Regions from separate parts of the Homo sapiens genome. Here region 2 is linked to region 1. Evidence: promoter capture Hi-C in human tissues and cell types (Jung and others, 2019). All regions are on one chromosome and are shown on one strand. Each heading gives the region's core, a stretch centred on a gene start or on the middle of the fragment in contact. The rest is flanking DNA. Distances are from core to core; before and after follow the strand shown. Region 1 holds the start of KCTD8 (potassium channel tetramerization domain containing 8). Region 2 overlaps KCTD8 (potassium channel tetramerization domain containing 8).

Region 1 (3,945 bases), core at 477-2,976:
TAATGAGGCAGAAAATAGTGTATTTTTTCTGTTATTTTAATACTTGGTTTTAACTTTTAAATGAAGGCTAAATCAATTAAATTAGTTAATTTGATCAATCAGTTTATAAATTTGGCAGGACACAATAGTTTTGAGTAAAAGGATTGCATGATGATGCATACCGAAACCCCCGTTTTAAGTCTCAGTCCTTTGGCAAATATATTCTGTTCTTTCATTGGTCCATTAGGTTCTCTCTGCTTCATATAATGCAACTTCAAAATTGGTATAACATTGTCTATGGATGCAGCTTATAAGGATCAATGATTTAAACATAATTTGTAATGTTCCAAAAATAATGTATTAATTTACAACCGTATCTGAAATTTGATACTTTTTTGGGTGGTTTGAAGAAAAGGAGTTGTTAGTAGGCATTTAACTTTTTAAAAAATATTAAAATCTGTATATCGACTGCTAATGGATAAAGTTCATCTGTAATATTGTTATGATAATTGAAGCAAACTACTTTGTGCCACAATACACCCTTTTCTCTTTTGTACTTCATAAATCAATGATTCTTTATGTTTCTGAACACAGATGTATGCCCCAGGGTAGAAGAAATATTTCTCATTTGCTTTCCTATTTTCAGTCTTTATCACAAGTAATGCTCATTTTGCAGACTGTACCTGTACTATGTACACATGGAAATTAAGGTGAGCTTAAATTCATATAATTTTTATTTGTGACCTTACTCTTGGGGTTAGAAGACTAATAAAAATATCAGCCACTTCTCTTGTTTGATGGAGCTGAAAGGGAAATGGAGAGATTAATGAGACTGATCAGGATTAGAAAGAATGAACAAATCGAGTAAATTTCCTCTCGGGCTCCGTCTCTCCCTCTATAAACATTTATTAAGCATCTAATTTAAAACTAAAAATTGTAAAAATGTCGGAAGGAAACAGTTGTTACATACACTCCTTTATTATTGTGAACTGAAAGCAGATTACAAAGTTTTAAAAATTATTCAAGGATATTCAGTGCACGCAGTCGTGAAATTTGATTCCAAGAGAGGTACGCGCATTTAGCCCTTCACTTAAACTGTATCATAAAGCCACTACAAGAGATGTACCTTCCCACCCTCACGTAATCTTTTTGCAATCACTGCTGGCAAGCCAACATTTGTGGTGATTTCAGATTAGGAGCCTGGCATCTTTGCTATAATCAAAACCTTATTCTCCCCTCTCCGCTCCTCCACTCCTTACCTTAATGAAAGTGCAAAAAACTAGTTTTACTGGGGAGGGAGGCAAGGAAGGAAGGAAGAGAAGAAGGAAAGGAGGGAGGAAAGGGGGTGGCACAGACCCAAGGAGGGAGTGAAATGAAGGAATGAGAGCGCTGTCCCTTTTTCTCGCTTTTGCTTTAGGAGCTCCCTGCCTGCCTGTCCCCGCGGGTCGGGGAGCTGCACCTCTTGCAGGCTCGGCTCTCGGCCCCGCCCCCTAGCGTCGGAGCCCGGGAGCCGCGGCTGCAGCCTATCTCTTTAAATGACAGCTGAGGCTCGGGTCCCAGTCCGGGGCTTGACGTCAGTGCCTCCTCCCGTGCTGCCAGGAGTAGTTAGCGCCACCGTCGGCGCTCCGGCCTCGCGGCACGCTTGCAAGCTGCCGGGGCGGCGAGTTTTCTTTGCTTCGGCCCCTCCTCCCGCCCTCCCCACGGAGAGCCGAGCAGCAGCCCTAGAGCCTCTCGCAAGTCTCTCTCACACTTCCCCGCCCTCGCCCCAAAGGAGCAGCAGCTCCTTCTTGCCTCTCCATTGCCGCCGCCGCACCGGCGGAGCTCCTCTCTCGCGCGTCTCTCCTCCGATGGAGCTCGGGCGCCGCCGACGCCGCCGCTGCCCCGAACCCTGAGCGGGGCCGCCCCGGTCGGAGGAACGCGCCGCCCAGTCCGAGGGCGCAGAGCGCCAGGAGCACGCGGAGGGCTGGGGCGCGGGCTCCGGGAACGAGAAAGTGCAGCTCTCTCGGGTCACTGGGCCGGCGGCGGGGGGACTATGGCTCTGAAGGACACGGGCAGCGGCGGCAGCACCATCCTGCCCATTAGCGAGATGGTTTCCTCGTCCAGCTCGCCCGGCGCGTCGGCCGCCGCCGCCCCGGGGCCCTGCGCACCCTCGCCCTTCCCTGAAGTAGTGGAGCTGAACGTAGGCGGCCAGGTTTATGTGACCAAGCACTCGACGCTGCTCAGCGTCCCGGACAGTACTTTGGCCAGCATGTTCTCGCCCTCTAGTCCCCGTGGCGGCGCCCGGCGCCGGGGCGAGCTGCCCAGGGACAGCCGGGCGCGCTTCTTCATCGACCGGGACGGCTTCCTTTTCAGGTACGTGCTGGATTATCTGCGGGACAAGCAACTCGCGCTGCCGGAGCACTTCCCCGAGAAGGAGCGGCTGCTGCGCGAGGCCGAGTATTTCCAGCTCACCGACTTGGTCAAGCTGCTGTCGCCCAAGGTCACCAAGCAGAACTCTCTCAACGACGAGGGCTGCCAGAGCGACCTGGAGGACAACGTCTCGCAGGGTAGCAGCGACGCGCTGCTGCTGCGCGGGGCGGCGGCCGCCGTGCCCTCGGGCCCGGGAGCGCACGGTGGTGGCGGCGGCGGCGGCGCGCAGGACAAGCGCTCGGGCTTCCTCACGCTGGGCTACCGGGGCTCCTACACCACCGTGCGCGACAACCAGGCCGACGCCAAATTCCGGCGTGTGGCGCGCATCATGGTGTGCGGGCGCATCGCGCTGGCCAAGGAGGTCTTCGGGGACACGCTCAACGAGAGCCGCGACCCCGACCGGCAGCCGGAGAAGTACACGTCCCGCTTCTACCTCAAGTTCACCTACTTGGAGCAGGCCTTTGATCGCCTGTCCGAGGCCGGCTTCCACATGGTGGCGTGTAACTCCTCGGGCACCGCCGCCTTCGTCAACCAGTACCGCGACGACAAGATCTGGAGCAGCTACACCGAGTACATTTTCTTCCGTAAGTTCGCAGCCCCGGCGTTTCCCAGCACCCCTCGCCCCCTGCTGAGCCGCCGCCAGTTTGAGCCCCGCTGGAGGCCCCGCGGGGGTGTCCGGGGCAGGCGCTGGTTAACTCCTTATAGAGAGCGGCTCTCCCTGCACGATTCCCTTATGCAGTAGACACGATTTACATTTCACCGATTCGGATATTTCCGTCTCTACTCCCCCTTTCTAGAACTCAGTAGCACCCAGCTCCCAGCTGTCTACTTGCTGAACTTTATTGATCTTGCCTTCTCGGCCCAGCCCGCTCCCAGATGCCAGGGTCTCCTCGGTTGCGGAGGACAGGGTGGGAGAGACTGGGGCACAGGGCAGGGTGCATAGACCCTCCTCCACCCCTTTGCTTTTGCAGGACTGCTGGGGGTCATTTCATGTGGCCCTCAGTGGTGTCCCTGCAGAGGGCAGGATGCCATAACAAGGCATCGCCTCGCACCACCTGGATCACCTGCTGTTGGTGCAGCTGCCGCGCGGGAGCCTCCAGTTACGGGTGGTTTTCTAGAGGGCAGGGGAGAAGCGATAAAGGTGCCCCCAGAGCCCCTCGAGGGGGCGGGGGCATGAGAGCGGGTGTGGGGAAAGGGGACTCCTTGACAGATGGAAACCCAGATTTCCCTGCGTCTGTTATCTCCAGTCTAATTGCCCAGTGTTTGGGACAGGGGAGGGTGGAAGGAATTAGAAAGTTTGCATGTCTGAGTGCTGCTCTTAGGGTTGGAGATTAGGAGGGGCAAGGGAGGAGGGAGGGAAGGTGTTGGGGAGGGAGGGGAAGAGAAAGAGAGAATGATTGTGTTTCCTTCTCCAGCGCGAAAGCGGGGGTTGAGTCCACTTTCTCAGGGTGAATAAATAGAGCGATTTTCTGAAATGAGAGAATGAAGGAATAGATTTGGGAAAGCATCTGGGGTGCGTTTTGCAGTGCGCTTCCGGAGCGGGCTATGTGGAGTTCA
Region 2 (3,945 bases), core at 462-2,961, 53 kb after region 1:
AACCTGAGAAACTGTGGCTTAAACAAATTAAGGGGTTATTTTTTGTTCATGTGAAAGGGTCCAGATGGAGCCAGCATAGGAATGTTATTGAGGTCCTAGTGTCCCTAGAAGCCAGGCTCCTTTTAGCTTTGTTAGCCATTCTTGGAGTGTGATACTTATTTTTGGAAGTTGACTGCTGGAGTTCAACTACCGGGCTTGAATTTTAAGCTGTGAGAGGAAGGCAAAGGACAAAATGGGGTCATATCAGTTGAGTTCATTAGTTTATTCTTTTCTTTTTAGAAGCTCTCTTAAACCTCCTAACAATTTATATTTCCACTGCATGGGTCTGAAATGTGTGATGAGGCCGTTCCTGCACACTAAGAAGGTGGTTCTCTTAGTAAAGTGGTGAAGGTACTAAGTATGCAACTAATGAATTCTGGTGCAGATATTTCCCTAATAGGTTAGGGTAACCAAGATTTGACCTGATTTTTTTCTTAGATGTTAATCAGCTCATTGTTTTGTGTTTTGTGTGCCTGTGTGTTTGTCCAGAATTTTTATGTTAATGAGAAAAAAACATGAAAAAGTTGAAGTTGTTTTAAAGTTTTCTGACCTGACTTTAAGAAGAAACAAAATGGCAAGTATCTGTTTAATGTGATAGAATTAAAAGAAAAAAAAAAACAACTTTCCTTGAGTAGTTCTTGGAGCAAACACTCTATAGTGCACTCTATAGTGCAGTGGTCCCCAAACCCCAGGCCACAGACCTGTACCTGTCCATAGCCATTTAGAAAGCAGGCTGCAAAGCAGGAGGTGAGTGATGAGCAAGCCAGTGAAGCTTCATTTTGTCTGTTATTTACAGCTGCTCCCCTATCACTTGCGTTACTGCCTGAGCTCTGCCTCCTGTCAGATCAGTGGCTGCATTAGAGTCTCATAGGAGTGCAAACCCTATTGTGAACTGTGCCTGCGAGGGATCTAGGTTGCATGCTCCTTATGAGAATCTTGTGACTGATGATCTGTCACTGTCTCTCATCACCCCCAGATGGGACCATCTAGCTGCAGGAAAACAAGCTCAGGGCTCCCACTGATTCTAGATTATGGTGACTTGTATAATTATTTCATTATATACCGCAGTGTAATAATAATAGAAATAAAGTGTACAATAATAGAAATAAAGTGTACAATTAATGTACTTGAATCATCCTCAAACCATCCCTAACCTCTTCCCCTGTCCATAAAAAAAATTGTCTTCCACAACACCAGTCCCTGGTGCCAAAATGGTTGGAGACTGCTGCTATATAGTGGGATTGATACTGGTGAGCTAGGGGAGGTCCTCAAATGCGGGTGGAACCTCACCCCCAGCCAGTGTCTGGGCTCTTGACACAGCCGTGAGAAGAAATTCAAGGACCAGTCAGAAAATAGTAAAAGTACGAACATTTTTTGCAAAGGTAAATGTATACACTCAAGAAAGGGGACTGTGGGCATAATCAAGAGAGAGTCACACACAAGGGGTGTGTGACTGCTACCTTTATGGGTTTCTTTAACCAAGGAGTGAAATATTTATGAAGACTTCTGGAAAAAGGTGAAGATTTCTTGGAACTGTGCCATCCATTTTTATGCCGAATATGGGTGTTCCCAGAATCCTCATGGTGCTGGTGGGTGTGTGATTTAGGATGTTAATGAGCATATAATGAGGTCCTAGGTGAAACCTAAGTCAAATCAGGTACCGTGTTGTGTCCAGTTACTCTTAGCCAGATTGGCCTACACCCTATTTCAGGGTCTTTTCGGCCCCTAGCTTATGCAGCTATGTCAACAGTTTCCTTTTGCTAATCATGTGAAACTGCTTCCTGGAATTTTCTATTCTCCTGTGACCACCCTGTATTATTCCTGTCTCAGGATCACACGCTATCCCTTTACCTCTCCCTTCTCTCATTACTGTTTTTTTGTAGACTATCAAAATCTAAACATGCCCTTTTCTTACCTTTCTTGCTGCAAAAGTTGGAGATATCACACAGTTCTGGCTACTAACCATTGGAGGAAGTCTTCTGGGAATGTGCCCAGGAAAACTTTTGTGTTCATTACAAAGGGAAATCTAGAGGGTAATATCACCACTTTCCCTTTCTCCTTGCTGTAAACACAACTATCATGCCTGAAACCTGAGCAGCTATCTTGAGAACACGAAGGACCATCATGAAGGAAAAGCCTTGATAATCACAGAGTTAAGGCCTCTATTGTCGAGTCACTGGAACAAGACCTACATCAGAACCTGAATGTTTTTGTGATGTGAGAAAATGTTGCAATAAGTTTTTTCATTATTTTTTGGTAAATTCATGCTCAATTAATGTGTCTATTTCTTCACTGAATCAAGTAAAGTTTTGTTTTTGTTTGTGTTTTTGAGATCTTGGTCTGGTTTAGAGTTGTAAGCAAAATCCCTAGATGTAATGCTTCACCTGTCTTATAGCACATACGACATAGCAAAATTGTGTGGGTCAAATTATCCGATTTGAATTCAGTGAGGTTTAATGATGTCAGAGAGACAGATTTGAAGCCAGGATCTGATCTTAAGGAATCAAAATAAAAATAGGATTCATAATGACCACATCAGTGAGTTTTTATGACATTAAATATGATAATATGGGAATACATATTGCACAGACATTGAATTTCTTTTGAAATATGCACTTGTAAAAAGACCAAAGGGTATTTTTTTTTCTTTCTTTCTGAGTTTAAGCTTTCTTTGAGACATACTATGGTTTTATGTTGGGTTCATGGGATTTGGAAGCTCAAAGAAGATATGTACTCAAATCCCACTCCTATGAATTGTGAAGTTGGGCTAGTTACTTGATTTTTAGAAACTGTATTTCTTTGCCTGTATAAAAGGGCATAGTAGCAACTCCCCTTAACTGAGGCGATGGATGTGAAAGCTTCTAGTGCTTGCCATGTTTTTGGCAATCACTAGATTATATTTTTTGTTCTGAATCATTTGAGTTTACTACTCGTAATTAGGTTTTTGGAATGAATTTTCTATATTTTGAAATAAGTATTATTTTCAGCACTTCCTAATGATTTAATGAGAAAGTAAACCAGTAATGGTAAACTAAGCACACAGAATGAATGCTTATATTATATTCTCTTGAACTCTATATTCTTAACAAAAAATGCATAGATTATCAAATTTGAAGTAATCAGAGAGCTGTAAATATACACCGTATAGGCATACTAAATACTATTTACTTTTATTTTATATTTTAATTTTTTAATCATATAGTGCAATGGCAAAAATAAGCTCTTTATTTGATTTCTAAGCTTCTACAGAATAAGAGATGCTCTGTAAATGTTTATTGAATAAATAGTTGAGAGAATGCCTAATGAGGAGGTGAGGATAACTAGTTCATGGCAGCGTAGTCCTCACCATTTATTACTATCATTTATGTTTATATTAATAATTTATAAGATACTTAAATATTCTGATAACTACCATTCATAAACTCCATTGTAAATACATAAAAGTTTTCTTAAAATGCTCATTTGAATTTCTTATTGGATTTTTAATAATAGAATTTAATACTTATAATGTGAGTAGGTAGTAGACCTCTTTTTCATGTGTTTTTTTTTTTCAGTGTGAACTTTCATAGTTGTTCTGTTTGGAAATATAATACATTTACCAACGTTATTGGCATAATTTAAATTTACTGTTTTTTTCCCTTCATCAACCATATTTAGACCCACTAGTGTGAGAATAACTGTTATGTAGTTTTTAAATGCTTTACACTAATTTTCTTAGGAATATATTATTTTGAAGATCAAATATGTATTCTTTTAACTTTCTTTATAACTTTAGGAAAACAGAATAAGCTTTGGTTTTTTGTTTTCCCTACCATGTCTCCTTTACCGAAACCTGATCATACTTTTGAAGAGCCATCAGACCTACAGTTTGCTGTTATAATGCTCCTGAAAATACCACACTTCTAT

Evidence for each region. The method cuts DNA at HindIII sites, captures the fragments that hold promoters and counts their contacts. A contact is called where the count stands out against the background at its distance.
Region 2: a contact is called between a fragment that was not itself captured here and the fragment with the promoter of KCTD8 in region 1, in 1 of the 25 tissues and cell types used here (dorsolateral prefrontal cortex).

The regions. Positions count from the first base shown.
Region 1 is chr4:44,446,590-44,450,534 of GRCh38, reverse strand. KCTD8 (potassium channel tetramerization domain containing 8) reads left to right here and starts at 1,726. Exons shown (of 2, transcript NM_198353.3): 1 at 1,726-2,972. The coding sequence starts at 2,012. The HindIII fragment of the contact is 6,980 bases long and covers 1-3,945 here.
Region 2 is chr4:44,393,167-44,397,111 of GRCh38, reverse strand. All of the region lies in intron 1 of KCTD8 (potassium channel tetramerization domain containing 8), which reads left to right. Among named protein-coding and RNA genes, the nearest start is that of KCTD8, 54 kb to the left of the region's middle. The HindIII fragment of the contact is 3,687 bases long and covers 1-3,554 here.